Regions from separate parts of the Homo sapiens genome. Here region 1 is linked to region 2. Evidence: promoter capture Hi-C in 16 types of primary human blood cells and fetal thymus (Javierre and others, 2016). All regions are on one chromosome and are shown on one strand. The core of a region is centred on a gene start or on the middle of the fragment in contact, and the rest is flanking DNA. Distances in the headings are between cores, read along the strand shown.

Region 1 (6,471 bases), core at 1,190-3,689, 750 kb after region 2:
AAAAAAACAAAAAGATTACAGGCAACAAAATCTCGCCTGTCCTGCCCCCCACTTCCCCTTACCCCAAATTCCAGGTCTGAGCTAATGGTTTTTCTCCATTCACTTAGAATTTACTATAATCTATAGTTTTCAAGGTGAGTAAAATGAGAATAAACCACAATCCAAGGTTATCAGAGATTTGCATATAACTATAATATGAGATCTGTAATCCCAGCATTTTTGGAGGCCAAGGTGGGAAGATCTCTTGCGTGAGACCAGCCTGAGCAACACAGCAAGACCTCATCTCTACAAAAAAAATAAAAATAATAAAAAGAGCCAGGCATGGTGGCACACACCTGTAGTCAGGAGGCTGAGGTGGGAGGATCGCTTGAGCCTGGAAGGTCAAGGCTGCAGTGAACCACTGCACTTGGCCTGGGAGACAGAACAAGACCAAAAAAGTAAAAATAATAATAATAATAATAATAATACAAGATCCTGCATTATAGGCACTAATGGAATGCAATAAATGCACAGAGAAAACAGCCATAAATCTCATGTTCGAGAAGACACCCAAGAAAGCATCACTGAGAGGTAGATCTGAACTAAGAACAATCAGTAGGATTTTACAGGATAGAAGGTAGGATAGAAGGTAGGTGGGAAGGGGTGACATGAAGGCAAAGATTTCAGGAAGAAGAAAAATTCATAATTAAAAACATAAAAGGGCCGAGTGCAGTGGCTCACACCTGTATCTCAGCACTTTGCGGGGTTACGGCAGGAGGACTGCTCAAGCCCAGGAATTCGAGATCAGCCTGGGCAATGAAGTGAGACCCTTGTCTCCACAAAAAATTTGTTTTTAATTAGCCAGTCATGGTGGTGCACGCCCATGGCCACAGCTACTTGGGAGAGTGGGATGGGAGAACTGCTTGAGCCTGGGAGGTTAAGACTGTAGTGAGCCATCATCACGTCACTGCACTCAGGCCTAGACTATAGAGCAAGACTCTGCCTCATAAAAAATACAAAAAGATGTTTAGGACAACATTCTAGAACTTACCAGTATGTAGGAACATGGCCAGATGTAGAGGTAGACAAACTAAGGTAGGTGGAGAAATATAACAGAAGGCCTTGAATATATCATACTAAGAAGTTTAAACCTTACTTTGTAAGTTTTAAGCAAGTGTAAATTGGGTGGGAGAGTTTCTGGCTCCTGAGCCTAGCCTACACCATAACGTATAAATCTTAGCAGAAGTCCTCACCTTGTGCATTCCACCCACACAAGTCATTAGATCTCTGAACTCACAAGGTAACTGGCATAAACAATGACACATAACTAAAAACAAATCCCTCAGAGCAACTGCAATTCAAAAATATAGTCAAACTCTTTTTTTCTGGACCTGCTATCAGTTCCAGCATTCACAAATCCCTTTTCTCACAAATGCTTCTATTAAATGTAATTCCAAATAAACATAAAGGAAGCAGAAGTTGTCACTGCTTCTGGAATTTTCCCTTGCTTACACCAAGAATATATTTAAAATTATATACTTTTAAAAAAACAAAAACATTACAACATGCTACATTCTTCAAGACACCAGAAGTCTTATTCAATGTAACAATTTAGCACACTATAATCTCTGAGGAACAGTGAGTTCCAAGATAATTCAATATAATCTTCAAGTGACAATCTGAAATAAGATTAGGCATAAATAATATGCAAAAGAATATTAACCTCCAACACAGTAAACTTGAAGTGTTAGTAACTTTGACTCAAGTGCTAAAATTCAAAACAGCAATTAAGTTACTGAAACATTTTACAACCCTAACACAAATAGATTATCAATGCCTCCACCCTACCCATAAATATCTCACTTCATAATTTCTTCTTCCAAATAACTAATGAATAATTACGTACATCTAAAAGTACAAATTCAAGACCAATACCAAAATTCAGATTTTTTACAGCCAATTATTAAGCTTTAAAGTATCAAGTATACAGTTTATAACCCAAGCTACAAAATTTATGTAATTAAAACATTTAACTCAAGTGAATAACCCAAGTTTTAAATTATATTGTATCAATAAAAAAAATGTTATGTAGTAATTCTCAACAGAAGGCAATCCTTCTATCCATATTCAAATGCAACCTGTTCCAATTTTTAATACAACAGAGGTAACTGGGTTACTATCACTACTACTAGTTTTAGCTGTCATAAATTGAGCAAGTGTCTGTTCTCACTTCTTTAGCCAGCATTGTGTAATAAAGAATTTGGGGCCCAGGCACAGTGGCACATGCCTGTATACCAGCACTCTGGGAGGCCAAGGCAGGAGGATCACTTGAGGCCAGGAGTCTGAAACCAGCCTGGGCAACATGGGGAGATCCCTACACACACACACACACAAAAATTTAAATTAGCCAGGTGCGGTGGTGTGTGCCTGTAGTCCTAGCTACTGGGGAGGCTGAGGCAGGAGGATCACTTTGGCCTGAAAGCTGGAGGCTACAGTGAGCTATGATAGCACCACTGTGACACAGTGAGACCCCGTCCCTAAAAAAACAAAAACAAAAAAATTTGACTGGCCATTGTCTGATTCCTGGAAAACTCTACTCTTGGAGTCTCCCAACTGATAGGAGTGTCTTTGTTATCCATGAATCCATAATGGGTCCTCCTTGGCCCACAGCTGAGTTTCTATTAACAGGGTGACTCCCAGTAGGCCCCTAGTTTCAGGATGGGGCCTGGCCATGCTGGAAATGCCAACCATGTGAATAGTGGGTTGGGCTTTGAGCAACCTGACATCAGCCTAACAACTTGACCTCCAGGGAGAAGGGGACTGGGGACTGAGTTCAATCATACCTATGTAATAAAAGTCCCATAAAAACTCCAGATGCTGTAGAGTAAGTGAGGTTTCCTGGCTGGCAATCATTCACTGCTGTACTGGAAGGATGACACGTCCTGAGGACATGGAAGCTTCATGTTTGGGACCCTCCCAGATCTTGTTCTATGTGTCTCTTTAATTGGCTGGTCCTGATTTGTATCATAACTGTAATTCCAAGAACAGCACTTTCCTGAGGTCTGCGAGTCATTCTACCAAATTATCAAACGTGAGGTGTAGTGGGAACTCCGAAAGTTGTAGCCAGTTGGTCAGAGTGTGGATAACCTGCAAGTCCTGGAGTTTGTAGCTAATATAAGAAGTGAGGAGAGTCTTGCAGACTGTACCCTTAACTTACGATGCCTTACCTAACTCTGGGTAGCAGGTGCCCAAATTACACTACAGCTATAAAATAGGATATGCTGCCTTACTTCTCTTCCCAGGACTCTTAAGAGAATTAAATGAGAAAAAAGTTAGGTAAAAGCACTCTTTAAGATATAAAACGTTGTGTTTGCTTCGGCTGCACATACACTAAAATTGGAATGACACAGAGAAGATTATCATGAGAAAAAATTCTGTATTAAAAAATTTACACTTTGGGAGGCCGAGGCAGGCGGGATCACCTGAGGTCAGGAGTTCGAGACCAGCCTGGCCAACATGGTGAAACCCCGTCTCTACTAAAAATACAAAACCCAGCTGGGCGTGGTGGCAGGTGCCTGTAATCTCAACCACTTGGGAGGCTGAGGCAGGACAATCGCTTGAACCTGGGAGGAGGAGGTTGCAGTGAACCAAGATCATGCCATAGCACTCCAGCCTGGGCGACAAGGGCAAAACTCCGTTTCAAAAAAAAAAAAAAAAATTTTTTTTTTGTTACGGTCTTTAAGATATTGAAGAAGAAATTGTTAAAACATTTGTAAAGTTCAGAACTGTCCAGGTTAAATGCTTTAAAAAAAAAGGCTTAAAATAAAAAGCTAAGGAGTCATCAAGAAATTGAATTTATTATGAGTAAAATACAGAACTTAATGAAAACCATTTAAAAGAGCAAAAAATCTAAGTAGTTTCAACTACATAACTCAGACCAGTGCCTAAAAGATAAAAATGCATTAAGTCCATTCCTAGAAATAGCAAATGTAGAAATGATGGAGCTTAGAGAATGTAAGATGCAGCCATTATTTTGTGACTAAACCTCCAAAAAGTTCATTTTAGCCTTGGGTATGATCAGGAATGACTGAGGTCAGTAAGCAACACTTTGCTTAATAGGCTATGAGTTTGAATACGAACTACTCACATCACAACCAACTTTTTTTGCCCATCACTACCTAATATTTTAATTCAAGCACAAAGCCATGGGACCCGACTAGTCTTTAAAAGGTTTCTCAAAGCATCCTATGTGGATAAGGCAGTCTCCTGCCTATATGAGAAAGTATCATTTTCAACTGCATTATAATAGAGGACAAAATTTTTTTCTATTATGTTCCAATGATAAAATCAAGACTTTAAATCGTAATTTTACAAGAACATATCGTTTTATTTTCCACCCTCTTGAATATGAGATACTAAGTGTTGCTGGTCTTTCCCTCAGTAATGCAGGGAACAGTTTGGTGTAGCAGGGGGAAAAAATGGCCTTGGGGGGAAAACCTAGGGTCTCATCTTATTTCTCCTCTTTAGCAGGCAAATGACTCTTGGGGTCTCACTTTCCTCCAGTAAGATATAATGGCATTGCCTCTGGAGTCTGTAAGATTCTTCCTACCCCTGACATTCTGAGGTGTTGAGAAGCCAATAACTCATAATTTAGATATTCTTACAAATTAAAAAAGCCTTGCAAGGAAATGTCAGAAACCATTAAAATTTATGTAAAAACATCCCACCTATGTGTTCCTCCTTATTGAAGGAGATCCAGGTAAAGATCTCCTATGTAGGCTATTATCCTTAGCAAACTAACACACGAACAGAACACCAAACACCACATGTTCTCACTTGCAAGTGGCAGCCAAATGATGAGAACTCATGAACGCAAAGAAGGGAGCAATAGACACTGAGTCTACTTAAGCGTGGAGGGTGGGAGGAGGGAAACGAGCAGAAAAAGTAACTATTGTGTATCAGGCTTAATACCTGAGTGATGAAACAATCTGTACAACAAACCCCCATGACACTAGTTTATCTATATAACAAACATTCATATGTACCCCAGAACCTAAGATAGAAGTTTAAAAAAAAAATTGCCCCATAGTCAGCAGGAAACACATCACTAGTAACTTTTACTAAATATTTACTTGCTACCTCCAATTTAGCCCTGAGCAAACTTAAGACATTTATGTTTTCTTAAATCTAATGTATTATATGCAAAACCTTTTCAAACTATTTACAAAGCTGAAGCACCAAGACACATGATTCTTTGACTTATTTTTAATGACTTTTAAATATGAGAAAAACATTAATTACGATGCAAGTCATCATCCTATTAAAACATTTCACTTATAATACAAGCATTTAAGTATAGTAGTAGTAGTTAAATCTAAAAAAAAAACAAAAAATTAGCCATAAATAATGATGAAGCTGCCAGTAGTTAACAACACACACTCACAAATAATGAGATAAATTTAACGGCAAGCTTCCAAACAAAAACCTTGTCATTTTAAGGTGTCCCACAGCAGACCGGTTATGACCTCGGGAACTGGCCTGAAATCTTGCCTCCTTTCTTGTGTAACCAGCCAAATAACAACACCTCTCTAAATCTGTTTCTTTATAATGGTGCCAACCTTATACGGTAGCTGTAGATATTAATTAAGACACTGCACCTAGGAAAGAGCCTAGCACACAGTAAATAATAACTCACAATTATTAAATTTTGGAAGAAATGTTACACAAAGCAGCAGCCCTTTGACTTTTAAAAAAAAATTTACACCTAGGGTTTAGGATCCTATTACTTGTTAAAGTTCAGACTGAGAAATGAAATAACAATCCTACAAAGAAGCATTTTACTAAGGACAAGTGAATTTAAAATAACTGGTATTATGCAAGTTCAATTACCACAGGCAGAATCTTAGTTTATGAGAATAATTCAAGTTGTATTAGCTGAAAATATCTATTATTACAAAGTCACTGTCTCCATCAATTCTTTCTTCTCTTATTTCTGTATCTGCTAAAGAAAAATAAATCATTATGAAAAGAACAGAAAGATACAGAGCACAGCTGGGTTACTTTAAGTTCCAATTAATAACCAAATATAATCTGAGGGGAAAAACCCAGTGAAAGAAGGGAGAAACTGAACACAACTAAAGATGATAAAAATTTCCTTCCCAAATACTACAAGACTCATATTTCAACTGGATCTTCAAGGACTTTCCTGTCTGAAGACACGAAGCCTCCAGCAAGTCCTTTCATCACCACAATCAGATCTCCAGCTGAACTTCAAAGGGAACTCTATAAAAGCCACTCTGGTGGGCGGTTGTTGAGATAATCACTCTTAGCATCTTCTACAGATTGAAAAATAAAAAACCTGACTTACACATTAAGACCAAACACCAGTCACCATTCTCAACAGTTTATTTTTTAATTTGCTCTAGACATCCACAAAATGTATTTTTTAAAGGCGTTCCATAAATACAATTTTGGTGGCTAACAAAAATTCAG
Region 2 (6,986 bases), core at 147-2,646:
AACACTTTGCCGAACGTTTGGCATCTTCCTTAATCAGCATCCCACAGACAGGGTAGAGGTGACTTAAGAATGAAAGGCACAATAATCCCTGATATCTGGAATCAATAAAATCCATGACGTAAGCCTATATAACTTTACACACCACAATTGTGGCAAAATTCATTTATTTGCCATTTATAAACGGGTCAGTAGTTTTCTTTAATACAGCTTACGTAATGTCATCGCCCAGTGCGTTTTCGGGTTTACACGTGTGGGTTAAAGAAATCTATGTCAAGATAACCTGTTCATCAAACTGTTTTTTAAACATTCAGAAAAAGAAACATAAACCACAAAACGCATATTTTTATTCTAAATTTACAGTCTACGTTCCAACGAACGACTGTCATTATCTTTTATCAAATAATCTGTCCAACAGCAAAAGCACAACAGCAAAATACGTGGAAAGCATTCAAAGCATACATTGTGCCTGCTTCTATTTTCCAATGCGGAATGTAGGCAATGAAACCGCTCCAGAGAAACACACTGTTGCGAGGAATAAAGGCGGGTGTGCAAGTGGCTCGACTGCCAGCTCAGAAAAGCTCGCCTCCGAGATGTCACCTGGCACACTTGGTGGAGTCACCGAGACCCAGCCTCAGGGTCCTACTGCAGCTTCCTCATTACGGAGAGAGCTGAGGCCTGGGGAAACGGGGGCTGCTCTTTCACGCGGGCCCCGCAGCCCTTCACTTTGTGTGAAAATTCCCTGCGAAGGCTGCACGGCCGGTCCCCTCGGGAGCAGCCCCTGCCCCTGCGCCTCGGACCGTCCGGCCCCGCCCACCTGCCCCGCGGCCCCCGCGAAAGCGCCGACTCCCGCGCAGCCCCCGGGTCCCACAGGCAGCTGTCCCTCCCCCTCCGCACCCCCCGGATCAGCACTTTGCTCCACTTTCCCCCAAAGTCGCCGAGCCCCGCCACGCCGGGGAGCGCCAGGAACGCACCAGGCGCCGAGCCGGCCGCAGAGAGGGCGCGCGACCCCGAGGGGTGCGCGGTGCGGGGCAGGGACGCTGGGAGGACGGCCCGGCCCGCGCCCCGCCGCCCGCCCCCGAGGCCCAGCCGCTCCCGGAGCCGGCCCCGCGCCCAGAGGCGCCAACAGCTCCCCCGCACAGAGCTCCGGCCGGGCCGCGGCGCAGTAGGCTCCTTTACCAGCAGGTGGATCTCCCGCAGCCCGGGGCCGCCAGCCCGGCCGCCGGCGCCGCCCCCAACTCCCGCGCCCTCCGCGCAGCCGCCCCGCGCCCCCTCCCGCCCCCGCGCGCCGCCGCTGCCGCCGCGAGCCCCTCACCCGCCGCTGGCGTCGCCGTGCTCCCGCGGCTGCCGGCGGAGCTGCTGTAGCCGCCGCCGCCGCTGCCGCCGCCGCTGCGGGCCGCCCCGCCCGCCCCGCCGGCTCCGCCCCCGCCGCTGGAGCGCCCGCCCCGCCCCGCCCCGCCGGGCCGCCCCGACCCCGCCAGCCATTGGCCGGCCCCGCGGGCCCCGCGCCCCGCGCCCCGCGCCCCACCAGTGGCCCGCGCGACTGTCACTTAGGGGCGCCGCCACGCAGCCTGCGGAGCGTTCGGGAGGCTGGCCCGGCTCATCGGTGTCACGGCGAGGTCCGGAGCGGAGCCGCGGTCTCGGGTCCCAGCTCTGGGCGCCGGCCTGCTCCCCGCCGCCCCGCTGCCACATCTGGCTGAGATCCTCCCGGCGCGTGCAGGGACCGCTCCGGCGGCCAACAAAGGCCCGGGCGAGCCCTCGGCCTGCGCCTCGGCGCGCGACCCGACCACCCGGGGCTGCCCCAGCTCCCAGGCGCCTGCCTGCCTCGACCCGGCCCCTTCCCAGCGGCGCGCCCCGCTCCGGGCCGCCCAAACTGGGCGGCCTCCCCGGGGACAGGTCCCGGGCCCAGCCCCACAGGAGCTCCCGAGGCCCCGCGGACGGTCGCGACAGCCCCAACTTCCCGGTGAGAACCCCGCGAATCGGCCAGAAGGGCTGATTTCAGCAACTGGGAAGGAGAAAAACAACTAGGGTTTCAACGCACATCGTTGGGTGCTAATGCCCCTGATTTTCCACTATGCCCCGTTTTCTTGAACCCCATGTCCTTATCTGTCGCCGTTTCACAAGGTTAGAGGTTAACTTCAAAGGCAAAAAACTGACTCGTTTGTAGAAAGCCTGGGTGGTCTGTCCCTGTTTTTCATAGTATCCATAGGACTTGTGCTAACAGTAACTACCCCTGGGTACGTCCTCTTTTGAATACTTAACTGTATAGCAGGCAACCGTATAGCAGGCATGGGTGTTAGATCGTTTATTGCATATCTCATGTTTTAAATTTATTCCCCATTTTTCATAAGAGGAAACTAGCTGAGAGGTGAAAGGGCTTGCCCAAGGTCACACAGCTGGTAATGGTTCAAAAACAAGGGATGTGTTAACTTTATTGCCGCAATAATCCTTACAGCAATCCTACCGAGTAACCTGTAAGGGAATTGAGGGGCCAAAGATCAAGGAGGCAGCCTTGTTCCTGCCAAACTCCCAAAGTAATAAGTAGATTCTTTTCAGAAAACAGTAATTTCAATAATCGAAAACTCTTAAGAGGCATCAATCAGAACAGGGTCCCCTCCCCACCTCCGATAAATTCCATTATTTTTATCTCAAGATAAGAATAATTAATAATCAGCTAGAACATGCATGGAGTTATCAGCCTTCCCATGTTGAGGTTTCTCCATGACGGCTAATTTAAAACTTCAGGAAGAGACACGTAACATCCCTGCTCCCATAGTCTCTTACTAGTTTAGGGGAACCATACCAAAAGATCTGTCCACTGCCCAGCACTGTGGACACAACTTGGGGGATCACAGCCATGATATCCAATGACAGCTCTTCCCTCTACTTTGAGTGTGTTTTCTCTCTACTTCCGGTTTGGCTGTGTCCCCACCCAAATATCATCTTGAATTGTAAATCCCACAATTCCTGTGTGGTGGGAGGAACCTGGTGGGAGGTAATTGAATCATGGGGGAGGGTCTTTCCCATGCTGTTCTCGTGATAGTGAATAAGTCTCACGAAATCTGATGGTTTTAAAAAAGGGAGTTTTGCTGCACAAACTCTCTTTGCCTGCCACCATCCATGTAAGAAGTGACTTGCTCCTCCTTGCCTTCCACCATGATTGTGAGGCCTCCCCTGCCATGTGGAACTGTAACTCCATTGAACCTCTTTTGTCCGTTGCCCAGTCTTGGGTATGTCTTTATCAGCAGCATGAAAACGGACGAATACATTGGGGACCTGAAAGCCAGGTTTCCTGTATTCTATGACAAAGCCATTGCCAAGTAGCAAGCTGGCAATTTGATTCATGACCAGATGTAAACAGAGGTAAAGACTGAGACCATTCCAAGGTAAAGCTTTTAATACATTGTTGGATATATCCTGCCTAAAATATCTCCTAGGAATAGATGATTCTAGGCTTTGCTATTACAGTGCTCTTAATGACAGACAAGCAAACTACTTCTTGCAGAGGAAGAAAGTCCTGCCATTTGATAACATCATGGAGAATGCCCCCAAGCCATTTTCATGAATTACCCAAAAGACCAAATGGAACAGGAGCTATTATCCCTATTTTATTCACGAAGAAACTGAGGCCCTGAGAAATTAAGACATTTGACAGATACAAACAGTAATTTAGGCAATTAGTAAATGTTTGAATCAGAGTTCAAATCCAGGTCTGTTTGATTCCAGAGCCCCTACATCACCCCTCCAGACTATCTCTCTGCTCACATCTTCAGCAAGTTACAAAATTTTGTTGAGTGGATGAATATTTTTACATATATTTCCCAGCTGGGCACAGTGGCTCATGCCCATAATCCCAGCACTTTGGGAGGCAGAGGTAGGAGGATTGCTTGAGCCCAGGAGTTCGAGACCGGCCGGGGAAACAGAGAGAGACCCATGTCTTTAAAAAAATAAAAATTAAAAATTAGCCTGGTGTGCATGCATCAGTAGTCCCAGCTACTGGGAAGGCTGAGGCATGAGGATCATTTGAGCCCAGGAGTTCCAGGCTGCAATGAAATATGATCATGCCACTGCACTACAGCCTGGGTGACAGAGTGAGACCCTGTCTCTCTCTCTCTCTCTCTCTCTCTCTCTCTCTCTCTCTCTCTCTCAAAAGAAAGAAAAAAAAAAGCCAGGTGTGGTGGCTCACTCCTGTAATCCCAGCACTTTGGGAGGCTGAGGCGGGCAGATCACCTGAGGTTCAGGAGTTCAAGACCAGTCTGACCAACAGTGTGAAACCCTGTCTCTATTAAAAATACAAAAATTAGCTGGGCATGGTTGTGCGTGCCTATAATCCCAGCTACTTGGGAGGCTGAGGCAGGAGAATCGCTTGAACTCAGGAGGCAGAGGTCACAGTGAGCCAAGATCGCGCCATTGCACTCCAGCCTGGGCAACAAGAGTGAAACTCCATCAAAAAAAAAAAAAAGATGTTTCTCTTCACCTTCTCCAGTTTTTTCTCTTAGTGAAGGAAGGAAATGAAAGCATTTACAGACATTCTATAAGCAGAGGCATATGTCAGAGGAGAAAGGAATAGGGGGAAGGACAAACTTCAGTTATAGACTCCACCGGCTTATTCAGATAAAAAGCGGAATTTCCCCTGCACTCTGGGTAGTGGAGGAAGCACAGCAGAAGACAAAAAGTGTACAGGAAAAACACAACTGCTTTCACTTGGAGGCTTTTTTGATACTTCGTTGCTGCTTCAACTGGCAGCAGAAGGGCAGGTTTTGGAAAATAGGGTTACACTTATCTCAAACCATATACATTGTAGCTCAGGAAAGTCTGGATTTCAGTGAGTTGTCCCAAGAAACTGGAATGCCATAGAATATATTATTCCAAGGTATAGGGTATAATTGGTTGATGATTCATGTTAACTTAGCAGAGTTTATGATCCTGGATTTTCCAACTAAGTCCATAGTATCTGTTAATAATCAAAGACAATCCATCCAAACCCCACTGAATCCCATTCCATATCTTTTTCTCTTTTTAATATTGTTGATGATGATTCTCCTCCTCTATCACTTCCTTTTTATTTATTCTCTACTTCTACAGTTTCTGTTTCTGCCTTTATTTCTCAGTGGAATTGTACCCAAGAGGTTCTGCCAGAACTTTACCATTTATTTTGTAGTCTGTCCCCAACAAAGCTTCTATGTTGAGGCTGTTTTCCTTTCCACACACATTTTTGCTGTTCCACAAACTTTTTCTGAGTGCCTATGATTACAGAGGCAGCTGTTATCTAACCACAAAGTGCTCACAGTAGAAGAAATGGGTAAGTAATTAAACCATAGTACAATGCTACAAACGCACAGTTCTGGGACAGCCGATAGGATTAAGCCATCTGGGGGCAAGGAAGCCTTCCTGGAAGTGATATCTGAGCTAAAAGCAGAGTACACACAGGGAGTGAATCTTTTCCTTTTATCTCTTTGATGGTAAATGGCTGTTGGTGGGGCCATGCCTATAGCAGTCAGCTTCTAAGAATTCAAGCACATAATCTCTAGTTTTCTTTTCTACCCCAGCCCCCTCCATGCATTAACAATCAAGCTTGCATTATTTATGAATATTTATAAAGATTGTGTTTTCTGGCTTCTTGGCTACTAGCTCTAGTGAGATTCTTTCCCCGACCCAGTGTAAAGCCTGCTAGAGGAATCACATCAGGAGGTTCTCCCTGGCTTTTTATTTTATTTTTATTTTATTTTATTTTATTTTATTTTATTTTATTTTATTTTATCTTATTTTATTTTATTTTGAGATGGAGTTTTGCTCCTGTTGCCCAGGCTGGAGTGCAATGGCGCAGTCTTGGCTCACCGCAACCTCTGCCTCCCGGGTTCAAGTGATTCTCCTGCCTCAGCCTCCCAAATAGTTGGGATTGCAGGCATGTGCCACCATGTCCAGCTAATTTTGTATTTTTAGTAGAGATGGGGTTTCTCCATGTTGGTCAGGCTGGTTTCAAACTCCCGACCTCAGGTGATCTGCCCACCTCGGCCTCCCAAAGTGCTGGGATTATGGGTGTGAGCCACCGCGCTCGGACCTCCCTGGCTTTTTTAAATGTATATGCACAAACGGTAGGAGACCTCTCCATTGTAATTGATCAACAGTGCACTCAATCACTTTCATCCAGAAACTAGATAAACTGGGACCAAGGTGAACAGTGTAGAGTCTATTAACTCTTTGTTAGATGCAGAGTGTTTCAGACACAGCATACAAACTATTTCTGTTGTATAATCAGACAGGGCACGGGAGGCCCAAGAAATTAAGGAGAGAAAATTCAAACAGAACCAACCACTGTGTATATTCAACTCTAGGTGGATGTTAAGTTTCATCCAGATGAAAGACCTTAGATTTCTAACAGAACTGAATTATTATTTTTTTATTTTTATTTTTTGAGACAGGGTTTCACACCCATCACCCAGGCTGGAGTGCAGTGGTGTGATTTCAGCTCACTGCAAGCTCCATGTCCCAGGCTCAGTGATTCTCTTGCCTCAGCCTCCCAAGTAGCTGGGACTACAGGCACACACCACCATGCTTGGCTAACTTTTGTATTTTTTGTAAAGACAGGGTTTTGTCATGTTGCCCAGGCTGGTCTTGAACTCCTGAGTTCAGGTGATATGCCCACCTTGGCCTCCCAAAGTGCTGAGATTACAGGTGTGAGCCACTGTGCCCAGCAAAATTATTCTTATTTTTAAATTTTTATTCTTCCCCCCACACCTTTGCCCAAAGAGAGAACCCTTGAAAGATGCCTTTTCTATTTCACTTTCATACCACTGGGGAAGATGTTATCTATCAAGTGACTCATACAAATGTCAGGTTGTGTGGCTACACAATTATGAAATTGTAAGTGTTTACCATGCTTAAGTGTTGTGGCTGTTGGTATTTACATAATGTACACAAGGCATTCCTAAAATTTTTACAGAAAACTCTAGAGAATCCAACCTGTCTTAGTGGGGGACAGGCTACCC

What was found. The method cuts DNA at HindIII sites, captures the fragments that hold promoters and counts their contacts. A CHiCAGO score of 5 or more calls a contact.
Region 1: a fragment that was not itself captured here is called in contact with the fragment with the promoter of MGAT4A in region 2 in 1 of 17 cell types (fetal thymus); the score reaches 5.3 in fetal thymus.

The regions. Positions count from the first base shown.
Region 1 is chr2:99,479,338-99,485,808 of GRCh38, forward strand. All of the region lies in intron 1 of REV1 (REV1 DNA directed polymerase), which reads right to left. Among named protein-coding and RNA genes, the nearest start is that of REV1, 7.4 kb to the right of the region's middle. The HindIII fragment of the contact is 989 bases long and covers 1,946-2,934 here.
Region 2 is chr2:98,729,736-98,736,721 of GRCh38, forward strand. MGAT4A (alpha-1,3-mannosyl-glycoprotein 4-beta-N-acetylglucosaminyltransferase A) reads right to left here and starts at 1,397. Exons shown (of 16, transcript NM_012214.3): 1 at 1,313-1,397. LOC107985922 (a long non-coding RNA gene) reads left to right here and starts at 1,546. Exons shown (of 2, transcript XR_007087150.1): 1 at 1,546-1,960. RefSeq lists silencers at 1,405-1,734, 1,755-1,944, 2,051-2,345. The HindIII fragment of the contact is 4,047 bases long and covers 1-3,387 here.